3 separate regions of the Homo sapiens genome follow, and regions 2 and 3 are each linked to region 1. The links are contacts of gene promoters, found by promoter capture Hi-C in blood cells and fetal thymus (Javierre and others, 2016). All regions are on one chromosome and are shown on one strand. The core of a region is centred on a gene start or on the middle of the fragment in contact, and the rest is flanking DNA. Distances in the headings are between cores, read along the strand shown.

What was found. The method cuts DNA at HindIII sites, captures the fragments that hold promoters and counts their contacts. A CHiCAGO score of 5 or more calls a contact.
Region 2: the fragment with the promoter of RNASE3 here is called in contact with the fragment with the promoter of RNASE1 in region 1 in 7 of 17 cell types (monocytes, total CD4 T cells, naive CD8 T cells and 4 more); the score reaches 11.2 in monocytes.
Region 3: a contact is called between a fragment that was not itself captured here and the fragment with the promoter of RNASE1 in region 1, in 1 of 17 cell types (M2 macrophages). The highest score is 5.9, in M2 macrophages.

The regions. Positions count from the first base shown.
Region 1 is chr14:20,799,873-20,804,656 of GRCh38, forward strand. It overlaps RNASE1 (ribonuclease A family member 1, pancreatic), which reads right to left and starts at 2,972. Exons shown (of 2, transcript NM_002933.5): 1 at 2,925-2,972; 2 at 1,356-2,221. The coding sequence starts at 2,196. The coding sequence ends at 1,726. All of the region lies in intron 3 of LOC105370397 (a long non-coding RNA gene), which reads left to right. LOC107984671 (a long non-coding RNA gene) reads right to left here and starts at 657. Exons shown (of 3, transcript XR_001750624.2): 1 at 32-657. The HindIII fragment of the contact is 7,079 bases long and covers 111-4,784 here.
Region 2 is chr14:20,889,024-20,893,807 of GRCh38, forward strand. RNASE3 (ribonuclease A family member 3) reads left to right here and starts at 2,362. Exons shown (of 2, transcript NM_002935.3): 1 at 2,362-2,428; 2 at 2,659-3,325. The coding sequence starts at 2,664. The coding sequence ends at 3,146. All of the region lies in intron 1 of LOC100507513 (a long non-coding RNA gene), which reads right to left. The HindIII fragment of the contact is 4,045 bases long and covers 2,328-4,784 here.
Region 3 is chr14:20,870,569-20,875,352 of GRCh38, forward strand. It overlaps LOC100507513 (a long non-coding RNA gene), which reads right to left. Exons shown (of 4, transcript XR_110261.4): 3 at 2,991-4,268. Among named protein-coding and RNA genes, the nearest start is that of RNASE3, 18 kb to the right of the region's middle. RefSeq lists enhancers at 3,224-3,323, 3,434-3,483. The HindIII fragment of the contact is 1,516 bases long and covers 1,702-3,217 here.

The sequences.
Region 1 (4,784 bases), core at 1,722-4,221:
TCTCAGAAAGAAACATTTAATAGGGACTTACAAATAGAAGCCATGTCTCAGGCAGCCACAAGACAGTGGATCTCCGCACAGGCCCTGCAGAAAGTATTCTTTATATGGCAAGCTTCCCCACCCCCCACCCTGTGAGATGGAATCTTGCTCTGTCACTCAGGCTGGAATGCAGTGGCGCGATGTCGGCTCACTGCAACCTCTGCCTCCCAGGTTAAGTGTTGACAGATGCCAAAGGTAGTCTTTCAGTGGCTGTCAGGAAGGGTTGCCAAGAGTGGAGTGGACTCACAGGCTAAGAACACTGGGAGCCTGTGAGAGCCCACCAGCAAGCTCTGGGAGAGAGCTACCGCTCCACAGCACTTACTGAGGAGGGGAGCTTTCTTCCTGAGTTAGAGCAATGGCTTCCTGAGTTAGAACAATGGCTTGGAAGTCAGGAAACCTAGGGTGTAGTCCCGGCTGTGCCACTAACTAGCAACAAGCCATGTGCAAGTCACCGGAAAGGCAGGGGTCACATTTGGTCAGGGATGGCAAATGTGTGGCACACACACCCTTCCCCCTCTCGTGCCTTCGATAGAGGCTGTTGTTCAACCACACCACTGTCCAGAATTTTTTGCTACAGCATTTTGGGTAGGCACTTCCTTTTTTTTTTTTTTGAAACAGAGTTTCACTCTTATTGCCCAGGCTGGAGTGAAGTGGCACCATCTCAGCTCACTGCAACCTCCGCCTCCCAGGTTCAAGTGATTCTCCTGCCTCAGCCTCCCTAGTAGCTGGATTACAGGCACCTGCCACCACGCCCCACTACTTTTTGTATTTTTAGTAGAGAGGGGGTTTCACCATACTGGTCAGGCTGGTCTTGAACTCCTGACCTCAGGTGATCCACCTGCCTCAACCTCCCAAAGTGCTGGAATTATAGGTGTGAGCCACCACGCCCGACCGGCACTTCCAATTAGAGTTGGTACACAAACTGAAATCTACTTGCTATCCCTCAATTCCGTGCTCTCCAAAGTCACTTCTGGCTCTAAAATGTAAGGTTCTGGCTTTCCAACTAAGAGGTGCCCATTTTTCTGATTTAGTAATAGCTCACTCAAAAAAAAAAAAGGAAAATGGAAATTTAGGATCATAATTTCATTGAGTCCTCTTCCCCACCCTGAGGCTAAGCAGGATCTTCCTGAGGTCACACTTGCCTTCCTTCTGTGCCAGAGAATGATTGTATTTGAGCTTCACCCCTCTGTCAGTTCACCCTGCATGGCAGTGTCCCAGGCTGTAGCTCCCTTTTGTCTAAAACAGCCCACACTTAACAGTTTTATGTTTGGCATCAGGGAATCTACAAGGAAAGGAATTTTCTCAAGCCACTAAAATCCAAGTCAGAAGGGAAGGCATTTAATTACTCCATTCACCGTTCTCCAAAGTGAATCAGATTTACAGTTCTTACCCCTTGCTGGAAGGCAATGCCAGAAACAGTACCTAGACAGAACCGCTTCAGAAATCAGGTGTTTGCAACTGCGTTTTATTGAAAGAAAGAGTGGAGGGGTTAACATGGGGCCCACCTCACAACCCACTCTTCACCCCCAAAATCACGCAGGGATGGGACTCAGGAAAGGGAAGCATGTGTGTGTTGAATAGGAGCCCTAACTGTAGTTACTTCTTTCACAGCAGGGAAGGAAGAGGGAAGAGGCAGCTGTGGAGAGGATGAGGTTGAGGGAGGTGGGGTATCTCGCTGCTCTGACCTTAGGTAGAGTCCTCCACAGAAGCATCAAAGTGGACTGGCACATATGGGCTCCCTTCACAGGCCACAATGATGTGTCTCTCCTTCGGGCTGGTCCGGTATGCACAGTTGGGGTACCTGGAGCCGTTTGTCAGGCGGCAGTCTGTGATGTGCATGCTGGAGTTGCTCTTGTAGCAGTTGCCCTGCCCGTTCTTGCAGGTGACCTTTTCCTGGAAACAGACATTCTGGACATCTACCAGGGGCTCGTGCACAAAGGTGTTCACTGGTTTGCACCGCCCCTGTGTCATATTCCGGCGCCTCATCATTTGGTTACAGTAGGTGGAGCTGCTGCTGGGGGAACTGTCTGAGTCCATATGCTGCCGCTGGAATTTCTTGGCCCGGGATTCCTTGCCCAGGGAAGGCTGGACCCAGCCCAGCACCAGCAGTATCAGGACAAGCAGAAGGAGCCGGACAAGAGACTTCTCCAGAGCCATGGTGGCCTCACTTTCCCAGAAAAGCCTAATTGAGAAAAGGAGAGAGAAGGAAAAGAGCCCTCTTAGAAAAAGAACTCCAGCTCCCACCTATGGCTTGCCTGGTTTACACTTTCTGTTTCAGGTCAGCCAGAAAGACGTCCATCCTACTTCCTGAGGTTTTTCGTGTAATGAGACACTCACGTGTACCCTTTTCCACGAGCGTTTTATTCCCACTCTCCAAAGCGAGGTCTTCCTCCCCTCTAGGTGGTGACCTACAAAGTGACCTAAAATCCTGTCAGTTCCTATCTTTGAATACTGGAGTTTCTTTGATCCAAAATACATTTGTACCCAGTGCTCAAATGGCTCATCGAAACATCAGTTTGAATAAATCATGAACCAAATTGTATCCCCGACATCCAGGGCCATGGGTGACAGAGCCTTGTTGTCTTGGAGCATAAGGGAACTCAGGCCAGTGCCTGACACTGGCATCATAAAAGATTCCATTGTATTCCAGAGAGAAACGCTGGCCTCCCCCAATTTGGAGGCTCCTTCTTCTCCAGTCCCATGGATGCTCTGCAGCCTGCACGTTCCACCCTGACCCCTCTGCCCCCAGCTGATGTTTGCCTGGGCCACATTTTTTCAGCGCTAGCATCACCCAATCTTTCTCAGTGCTGTGGACTGGCCCTAGCTCCCTCTTCTGCAACCCTGAAGCAGAAGCGGCACCTGAGAACACCTCTTGGGCTGCTTACCTGGATCTGCAGCTTGGTGTCTGAGAGAGATGGAAGGCCAGTTTCTGCAATCACTCAGCTCCCGGGGTGTGGACCTTATACAGATTACAAAGGGGTTTGGCTTCCAAGAGGAAAAGGGTGGGAGGAGCATCTGGAGCTCAGTTCAAATAAAATCAAGGACGTGAGGAAGGAGTGGTGAATCACCCAGGCCGCCGTCTTTCTAGGGCTGCTGAAGAAAGAGCAAATCTTTGCCTACGTTAGTCTTTCTTCCTATGTGAACCACATCTGTCTGCTGATGCACAAGGAGCAGCAGAGAAAGCCACTACAGCACTGGTGCCCAAACCTGGCACACTAGGAACAAAGTCCTTGTTACTTCTTCGTGGGCGTTTTCACCAAGTAGACTTGGAGGTTAACAAAGGACGCAAAGGAGAGGTTCTAATGGGAGATAGGGAATTCTGGCCAAAGCTATTCCAGGGCTCCTAGGGAGCAAAACCCAAGTCTCTTTCTAGGAGGGCATTCTCCCAACGCTACCTCTCCCGGGGATGGGAGGCGGGGTCGGGGGGAATGGAGGCTGTCCTGCTGCCCCCAGCTGGAAGGCTTCCCAGATCTGGAGAAGAAAGGGGGAGTAACTGAATAGGGAGGAGGAGGAGGCCTCTAGGGTGCGCTCACCCAGTTCTGGCCACTTCCCACCCACCCTCCACCCCTGCTCTGGGGGCATCGAGAGGATGGGGCTGTTCTTATCTACAGTAACCACTGACCCTGTAGGTCGGAATTGAGTAGAGGAACTAAAGATAAACTTAAATCCCAAATCTCAAATTCTTTTTGGGGAAAAAATACAAAGAATATCATATTTATTAGCAGCAGAATGCCCTCCTAGAAAGAGACCTGTTTTTTTGCTGAGTAACAATTTGGATACCTCTAAGAATTATCAAAATATCCCTTCGTGCTGTGTATTCAGATTGTTTCAGCCTTTCTGTGTAAAAAGTGGCCATAGTGAAATTATCTGACCTACCTTGTGTGATTGTAGGTCGTAAGATCCTCATTCCAGAGAGGGTCCTGCCCCCCATACCCAGAAAAAAAGGACGAATGCTCAGAGAGGCCAAGAAGAATCTAGACAGGGAGGCCTTGCTGGGTTTCCCCACTCAGTCTATTTTCATTAGATCGCCCTGTTGTCCAGTCATATTTCTACACAGCTGTTCATACTTTGTTGATATCCAAGTGTAAGAATGCCCACTTTCCCCTGTTATCTTTGGGTCTTCTGAAGGCTCCCGTGTCGTGTAAAACTACGATCAAATCAATTTGTATGCGTTTTTTCCTATCAATCTGTCTTTTGTCAGTTGATTTTCAGCAAACCTTTGGAGGGTGAAAGGGGAATTTTTCCTTGGCCCCTACAGTTTCCTTACTCCCCCAGCCCCCACCTGTATTTTATTTTTCTGAGTCTTTAATAATACTTTTATTCTCTTGAATAGTCAAGTTAGAATGTGTTCATTCATTCATTAGACTGTGGGATACAGACATAAATAAGGCACAGGACTCACCTGAAGGGCGCCTGGTGGGATGGTTTGGTTAGTCAGGTGGACCCCACTAAGGCACTGGGCGTGGCTGCACAAAAGTGGCCTCCACCCAGCAAGATGATTTCAGAACCACAGTTCAGATGTGAACAGATCTTCTGTAACTATAATAAGGCTCTTCAACAGCCCCTGGCCCTAGGAATCCTGAAACTACAGGAAGCCATTTTGTCTATTTATGCATAGCAATCTAGACAAGCCCTTGGAGCTTTAATTGCACTTCAATGGGGAACCATCAGAAGCCCTTACTGCAGCCTTATCCTTGACCCAGTTGCAGAGGCATAGCCCCGCTTGTCTTAGGGCAGTAGATGCC
Region 2 (4,784 bases), core at 1,112-3,611, 89 kb after region 1:
TTCTGAATGCAATTTTTATGGCTGGGAGCAGTGGCTCATACTTGTAATCCCATCACTTTGGAAGGCCGAGGTGGGCGCATTACCTGAGGTCAGGAGTTTGAGACCAGCCTGGCCAACATGGTGAAACCCCGTCTCTACTAAAAATACAAAAATTAGGCGGGCATTGTGTCGAGCGCCTGTAATCCCAGCTACTCAGGAGGCTGAGGCAGGAGAATCACTTGAACTTGGGAGGCGGAGGTGGAGGTTGCAGTGAGATCACGCCACTGCAGTCCAGCCTGGGTGACAAGAGCAAGACTCCGTCTCAAAAAAAAACAAAAAACAAAAAACTCCACAATTTTAAAGGATGAATATGGTTGCAAATTGGGCAGGTTATGGTCTGCTTAAGACACTTCAATAAGTCTGATATGTCATAAGCACAGATGTCTTCAGGAGCCAGGCAGGTGTCATCACTGAACAGATAGGATAAAAGTCAGGAGGGAGAGTGGAGTCAGAGAACAGCCCTGAGCTAGAGCCCCTTCCACAGACGCAGCTGTTACTCAGCTCTAATTGATACAACACCAATGGTGCACCAACCACCATCATGTGATTTTTAAAGATAAGACAGTAATGAAAACTTTTAGTGAACTATTCCAATGTCAAACTTTATCTTCCAAACCAAACATCATAAATAGCACTGTGTATGCTGAAAAGAAGCACTGTTTAGCCAAGTACCTGCCCTGGGGCTGCAGTCTATGTCTTTTGCCTCATACTATAGACACTTAAGTGCAAATGTTTCTAGCCAGTGTGGCTGTCAGCATCACAGAGGGGATACTCTACGTATCATTCACCTTTACATTCTCATCACCTACAAAAATGATCTCCACACAATATACATGAAAAAATAAACTTGCCTCATGATAAAGCTGCTAATGAATGTCGGCCAGAACAGGACTTCAAGGCAGAGCAATATTAGCTGCGCATTGAGTCCTCACCAGGTCACCATTGTGTCCACATTTACCTAAGGACCCCAGTGATAAAATTATTGCATTTCTAAATGACAGGAAAATTGGACGGTAGTAAAAATTAGGCAGATTAACTGTTGGAAGGTATATTATATCATTTAAGGGTCTACTTTCCATTTTCTAATCTCAAAGCTAGACCAGATTTAACATCTGTTAGTACCCAGGCCTTACCTTTGCAATTCACTTCTCACCTCTGTACAATTTCCCCACATCATCCCCTGTGCCCAGAATGCTCATCTCTTCTCTAAATCCCCTGAAAATCCCCTGCTTATCCTTTAGGACCTGCTGAAATAAACTTTTTTTTGAAGTTTTCCTTATTTCTCAAGCCAAGTGATTTCCTTCACCAGCAGTGTCCCTATGACACCATGTTCACACAAATGCTATTACCTCTATCACACTGTAATACAATTATATGTCTACAAGTACTTTCCTGTGTTTCTCTGAGGGCCAAGAATAAATGTATGCTTTGTGTATCAAACTGTACACTTGACCTCTATACTTTCAGGAATACAGTGCTCTGTCCTTAAATGTTCATTTGTAAATACAGAACCATATTCTTGTTAATATCACAAAATGAAACTTACCAGGAAGATGAATGACAACCCCAGAACACACTGTTTTGTAGAAAATACCATAGGCTGAAAAGATCACAGGAATACCGAGTGCTAGGTTGGAATCTTTCATGACACCAAATGTTCATTCATCCTCTGCCAGATTTTACAACTGTCCTCGGTGTGTTTTTAGGTTATGTAACTTTACACAAAGTGGAATCAATAATCAGGGCAAGACTTAAGAGAAAGTGGATCCAATGCAAGAGGAGTAAAGAAAAAAATTCCTCAATTGTATGGAGCAGATTGTTTTAATTATCTACAGAATCTTGTGCCCCAAGAAATTAATAGCTCAAGTTTCCAGCAAGAGTGGTGGATGAGATGGAGAGCATTTATGTGAGAGAGAACCAAGGATATTACTAAAAATGGAAGGGAAGCTGGGTTTCTCCTGGGCAAACAGCCCTCTGTGGCTCTATTTCTCCTAACTACTATGCCTGCCTTCGTGTCATTTAGTCATTTAGGGGCCTGCCAGAGGACAGTTATAAAATCTGTGGTCATTCTGCCGGCAGCGTATAGTTTTCACCCAGAGTCCAGATCCCACCGGCAAAACTCTGTCTAACACAGGATGACTTGGAATTAGAGTCCGTATAGCAGAAAGAGCAGCAGGGCTGTCCTTGGGTATCCGTTGCTCAGCCAAGTCATCAAATAAAAAGGATGATTGCACAAGTGGACCATGTGTCAATCTGTGGGTTTCTGCATGGCCAGACCCACCAAGGGAAGCTTTATTTAAACAGTTCCAAGTAGGGGAGACCAGCTGCCCCTGAACCCCAGAACAACCAGCTGGATCAGTTCTCACAGGAGCCACAGCTCAGAGACTGGGTAAGTCAACAATCCCCAGAGCTGGGACAGGAGGGGCAGCGACAGGGCAGCACCTGAGGGAGAGGTGAGCTGAAGTTAGTGCTTAGGAGATGTGGCACACTTTGGGGACAGGAAGAAAAGGAAATGCGACCCCAGAGTGGCAGCAGAGGGGCCTGTGGGTTGAGACACTATAGAGTGTGTCATAACCGAGACCGGATCGGGGAGTAGTTACTTCTCTTCTTTTCTTACAGGAAACATGGTTCCAAAACTGTTCACTTCCCAAATTTGTCTGCTTCTTCTGTTGGGGCTTATGGGTGTGGAGGGCTCACTCCATGCCAGACCCCCACAGTTTACGAGGGCTCAGTGGTTTGCCATCCAGCACATCAGTCTGAACCCCCCTCGATGCACCATTGCAATGCGGGCAATTAACAATTATCGATGGCGTTGCAAAAACCAAAATACTTTTCTTCGTACAACTTTTGCTAATGTAGTTAATGTTTGTGGTAACCAAAGTATACGCTGCCCTCATAACAGAACTCTCAACAATTGTCATCGGAGTAGATTCCGGGTGCCTTTACTCCACTGTGACCTCATAAATCCAGGTGCACAGAATATTTCAAACTGCACGTATGCAGACAGACCAGGAAGGAGGTTCTATGTAGTTGCATGTGACAACAGAGATCCACGGGATTCTCCACGGTATCCTGTGGTTCCAGTTCACCTGGATACCACCATCTAAGCTCCTGTATCAGCAGTCCTCATCATCACTCATCTGCCAAGCTCCTCAATCATAGCCAAGATCCCATCCCTCCATGTACTCTGGGTATCAGCAACTGTCCTCATCAGTCTCCATACCCCTTCAGCTTTCCTGAGCTGAAGTCCCTTGTGAACCCTGCAATAAACTGCTTTGCAAATTCATCTGGAAGTGTCTGTGTGTCTTCCTCGGCCGCTCTGCTGTCATTTAGTGACAATCTGCTCTAGAGATTTGGGTTTATCATGAATCTCTCCCCCTCAATATCTGACCAAATTCCTTAATTCCCCCATCATCCTTCATGTGATACCTGATTCCAGGCCTGCCTTAAAAAAAAATCCAATTGAGTCAACTTAGCATTGGTCTCCCTAGCCTTAATATCTCCTCTAAGCAATTTTCCATCCACTGACTCCTCCCCCAACACCAACCTATAACTTGTGTATAGATCTCCACTTGTTTTAGTTGTATTCCAGAATTGAGCCCAATTTGATATTGAGGTCCCATTTGATGCTTTATGGTCCGACTATGGTTTTTATTGACATGATTTCTATCCCAAGAAAAAAAGAGCTGCAGTGAATCAGCTGAAAATGCACGTGCTTCATTATGATTTATGAATGATAAATTTTGATAGAATTGAACGTTATGATAGAAAATAGAAAAGAAGAAAGTAGAAAAAGTCAAGAATGCTATAAATAAGGTGAAACCAAGATAAAGAAAAGTTTAGCCTCAGGGATATTTCTTTTAAATGGGCACATCAAGTCTCCAGCTATTAGCAATCGTAATAGAGGTGGAACCAGGGTTTGAGTCAAATGTGCAATAAGATAAATTGTTCCGACAGCAGTAAGGACAGATTGTAATGCTGACTGGAGGAGAGGTGGACATCTTTCCCAAAAGTTCCATGTCCTGGAGATGGGGAGCCGCTGGTCACGTGGGAAGGAGAAGGGGGAGGAGGAGGAGGAGGAAGTGGGAGCACTCATGAAGGTGAGTTGGCTCCTGCCCATTCTGCCCTCCATAGATGTTCCCAATGGCGAGTCAAAGGTTCATTCAACACCTGTCAGGAAGGGCACAGCCTCGAGAATTCAGGATTTGTAGACCCAGAGAGAGAAGAAATGGATGATGAGAGCCGCTGCCCTGGACTCCAACACAGGGCTTCACTCAGGAATCCATGAGAAACAGGGGAGAAAAAGGGGAAGCCCCTTCCTGCAAGTTGTGGACAGGTGCAGCATTCAAGTGATTGTTCCAGGAACAGAGTGGGTCTTTTTGAATGGCCCGACTCAGAATGCAAGAGAGGTACGATGCCATCAGATCTGCACCTTGGTCCTTCAGTCTGAGATTTCTGACTTCTATATTTCTCCTCCTCTTCCAGACCCTGAGAAACAGCAATTTCCATTCCTCAGATGACTCCATGTCAGTAATGGTGCTTTAATTGGCATCAGACAGCAGCTGTATTGAAGTCTCTCCTCTGGAGAAGCTATTGAGATCTTGCTTCTCCAAGGTCGGGCTGTGAACTTAAAAGTTTGCACAGAGACACTGAGTTTGGGAAATCTCAGTGCTCAACAGAATCCACTGACTCTAGGTAAAACAGGGCATGTCAGGAAGTGAGTGCAGTCTTCCCATAACCTCAGA
Region 3 (4,784 bases), core at 1,210-3,709, 70 kb after region 1:
ATTAGGTAAACGACCACACTCCATTTAATCACAGTTCAGAAGATCTTCCCTAATTTCTGCTGAAGTCTCTTCAATAATTTCACCTACCTCTGGAAGAAACTAGAGGACTAATGGGAAGAGTCCATTGGTGTTTATGTGGGAAAAGGAAGGTGCAAGCCATTTCAGCTCAAGGAAAGAAAGGAAGGGAGGGAGGGAGGAAGAAAGAGAAAGAGAAATGAGGAAAGGAAGGAACGGAAAAGAGAGAAAAGAAGAAAGGAGGGTAGAAGAAAGAAAGGAGGGAGGGAGGAAAGAAGAGAAACTGACTTTCCAAAGACACAGCTGAAGCAGCAGCTAAGAGGTAACATTATGAAAGTATGGGGTATCATTCTTCAGGATGCAGTGTATTTATTAAATCAGAGGCCTGTAAAGGGTACTGTGTTCCCAATAGGAAGAATACACGGATCCAGGAACCGAGAAGTAGAAGCAGGAGTAGCTCCACTTACCATCTCTCTGATTGACCCACTCAGATATGTTGTGCTTTCATTTCTGTAACTCTAGGCTCTGCAGGGTCAAAGGTCCAGGTCCCCAAAGAAGATGCACCCTTGCCAACTTACACAGAAAGGTCTCATTGAACTGCAAGCTACAGCTTTTCCCAGGACACTTTGGATTTCTCGTGTCTAGGGACCAGCAGACGTGAAGAGGAGTTGCCATACTGTCAAGGCTAAGTAACCTTGATTAGCAGGAGGGAGGTAGGGCTGCTTTTACCCAATAGAGGCAGAAAAGAATTTATGTAGAACCCAAGTAATCTACTTGGGTGCTTTCTGTTACTCCCATGCTCCATTTTAACTGTGAATGTAAGTGTGTAGCCACCTCAGCCTGAGAAAAATATGATTACCAAGGGCTTAACCCTCAGAACTGGTGAGAGGGTAAATAAGAATAAGCAACTAAGACCTAAGGGTAAAGGGAGATTAGAATACATAGTAAAGGAAGGAGTGGATGGGTGCTAGTTACAGCCCCAAGATCTGCGGCATTGACAGTGACTACAGTTTGTTTGTCCACAGTAAACTTCCTCTTAAGTTTCCCTTCAGGAACAGAGACTGGTAGGAAGCCTGGAGGAGTTGTCTCTTGAACCTGTCTGGGGAAGCAGATCTGTGTGGCTCAAGAGGTGGACCTGGCCAGGCACGGTGGCTCACACCTGTAATCCCAGCACTTTGGGAGGCTGAGGAGGGCAGATCACCTGAGGTAAGGAATTCAAGACCAGCCTGGCCAACATGGTGAAACCCTGTCTCTACTAAAAATACAAAAATTAGCTGGGTGTGGTGGCGCATGCCTGTAATCCCAGCTACTCAGGAGGCTGAGGAAGGAGAGTTGCTTGAACCCAGGAACCGAAGGTTGCAGTGAACCGAGATTGTGCCACTGCACTCCAGCCTGGGTGACTGAGTGAGACTCAATCTCAAAAAAAAAGACGGACCCATTCTAAAAAAGTTTCTACATGAGTTTATAAGTACTCGCTTCTGCATGTCTGAAAAAATCTCTGTCTAATAAGAGAGACACACCTCAAAAGTTTTATCAATAAAAAAGGTACAAAAAAGTCAGAATAAAAATAGGACATAAAATCAATGCTATAAATATTAAACAGATTATGAATAACTTTGTGCTAATATATTTGGGAACTTTAGACGAAATGGATAAATTCCTACGTGGGAAAAAACAATCTACCAAAGCTTTCTCAAGAAGAAATGGAAAAGTTAGCATCTCTTTAACCATTAAGGAAATTGAAACAGAAGTTTAAAATAGTTTGAGGCTAAGCCTGGTGGTGTGTACCTGTAGACCCAGCTACTCTGGAGGCTGAGGCAGCAGGATTATTCGAGATCAGGAGTTCAAGCCCAGGAGTTTGAGGCACCTGAGACCGAGTGTTCAAGGATCAGTTGAGACCAGTAATTCGAGGTATGCTCTGTGATTGCACCTGTGAATAGCCACTGCACACTAGCCTGGGCAACATAGGAAGACCCATCTCCAAAAAAAAAAAAAAAGGAAAAGAAAAAAGAAAAAGCAGTCTCAAAGAAAATAAGAAAATATCAGGACCAAACAGCCTTACATGTGAGTTCTACCAAGTATTAAAATAACATATAATTCCAGTTACAAAATAAAGAAGGACTACTCCCCAATTCATTTCTGGAAGCTAACATATAACCTAGATACCAAAATTAAACAAGGCAATACAAAAAATTACAGACCAATCTCATTCGTGAACATAAATGCAAAAAAAATTTAACAAAATATTAGCAAATTAAATTTAGTCATATATAAAAAAGATTATATCACATAACCAAAATGGGTTTATCCCAGGAATACAAGGTTGGTTTAGTATTCTAAAATCAACTAATCTAATTCACCCCATTAACTGATTAAAGAAATATGCTGTATAATCCCATCATTCAACGAAATTCCCAATCCATTCAAGAGACATAAACAGGAGCAGAAGGGAAGAAACTTTTCTAATCTAAAAATGGGCATCTACAAAAGATCCACAGCAACAACCAGACCTACCAAAATGGCCCCTTAAAGATTTCTTGAAGGCACTTTTATAGCGAGCATTAGGCTAAGTGCTGAATGTCAAGAACAAAGGCAAAACAGCTATACCTCCTGGCATCGGGGGAAGGAATGAAAGTAATAGTATCCAGTTTTGTCACTGGATTATTCCAAAAGGGTAAAATCCTCACGCAACTCTGTTCCACAGGCACCGGGCTAGTCAGTTAATGGACGGCTGCCCTAGAGTCAAGTGCCCTCCTTTGCTTCAAAACCTTGTCACCATTCTGCTGGAGTCACAGGGTAGAGAATATGAACACCTTTGGATGCTTCCTCTCGTGGATAAAATAACCTCCTTCAGAAGGGGATCGGTGATGTAATGGATTCCATGAAAGAAATAAACTCTTCTCCAGCGCAGCTGAACTGTAAAGCTCATAACACAAGTAGGTCCTCAGTGCATATTCACTTCCTTTCCTTCTTACCTGAGGTGCTGCAGTGTGAATCTGAAGGTGGCAGGTTCAACGTTAAAGTGCTGCAGTGTATGAAAGTTATGGTAGACTCAGAAATCTGTTCTTCAACAGTTAGACTGTATTTATGCTGGCTGGATTTTGTTTATTCACCTATTATCGTCTACCCGTGTCAGCAACCAAGAAACCTGCAGCCTGTCTCAAAGGAAACCAAGAAAGAAGTTTTGGACTCTTGTGCAGGAAGCTTGTGGCGCGGCGCCCCCTGCCGACCAATACGACGGCCACGGGAACTGGGAGACCACGAAGGCTCTGGGCCTGCGGAGTTGCCCAAGCTCCTCCGGCTTCTCCGGAAACGGCTTTTTCCGGTGACACCCCTGGAGCCACAGTGATTTGTTTCCCTAAAGGAAGCGGTTTCCCGCCAGGGTATCGTCCCTAATACCCTCCGAAGGAGCCCATTGAGGAGAAAGGCATAGAATGTCCCGCAGAAGGCAGAAGGACCCTATGATCCAGGAAACCTAGGGCCAGCCATCAGGAGGTTTTATGAGAGCAGCTGGTGGGAAGATCAGCCCCAGGAGAAGGGGATTGTCTAGCAGCTTGGTTGGAGCAAGTCTTTTCCCGAGTATTATTTCCGTAATTCAGGCTCCCTCCCACCAACCCTCCACTGCAGCCTTATCCTCCACCAAAAGCCCTGACACTGTGGCAGGGGTAGGGCACATGGGGTTGGTGGGGAACAGGCTGTAAGAAAGACGCAGGAGCCTGCGTGCAAAGGACGAAGCATTTACAAAGAAGACCTTGACAGTGCTGCACAGATTTGAAGGCGTAGGGTGCAAGTCATTCAGGTGCCGTTGTCAGGAGGAACCTAGCCATCCAGGTGAACAGATGCCCCCTTCTTGCAGCCCACTCGCATGGGCCTGGTGGACTCCTTCTTATTTTTGGTAGTGGCAGTGAAGAGGTCGGGTCCCTGTGCTGGCAAAGCAGTCAGTGACATTGACATCATGAGTACTGTTGTGGCAGCTGCACATGGAGGGGCTGTTGGTACAGGGCAGTGGTGGAGTTCTGCAGAAATCTGCTATGGTGGTCAGATTCTATGAATGAATGTGTGGATCTGCTCGCATTTACCCCTATAGATCAGCCAACGGCACCTCATCATCACATCACAGTATCGGTGGTGTCCTCTAGGGACCCACGACCTGGGGTTGTCTAAATGTCGTGTTGAGAAGGGCAGGGCTGGAATGAAGACAGTTACGTCCAAAAGGAGGAAAAGGAGGAGGGTCCACATCAGATTCATGTTTCCTGTGAAAGCATTTCAAAGAAGAGCAGAGTCAAAAGAACAAGCCACGGTCCCTTGTCCTGTTCCTAAGAAGTCTTGGCCCTATACTTAATGTTCCCAGTTCTCCCCTCCTGCCTTTTCTACACTTATTCTTTGTGTACTCTTGGCAACAAGTGTTCTCACATCCTTTTTCCACCTCCTTGTCAATAACGGAGATGACTACCGCCCTCTCAACCCTTTATGGGATTGTCCTATGTACAAGGTTATTTCCAAACCCCAAAGTGATTCTTGCTCCTTACCTAAGCAGACCAGTTAAACTAAAAACTTTCATCTCTGAGGTGTTTGCATCTATCAGTCCATCTGCTGCTCACCCATAGCCTGTGAGGTGAGGCAGGTATCATTGCCAACCCCTTTTTAGAGTGACCTAACTCAGAAGAGAATTGACAGATCCATATGACCTGCATCTTAGAAAATATTTTCACTTCCTTAAATACAAATGTCTGTTTAAACGCTGTTTTTAAAAATGTGAGCATTTCAAT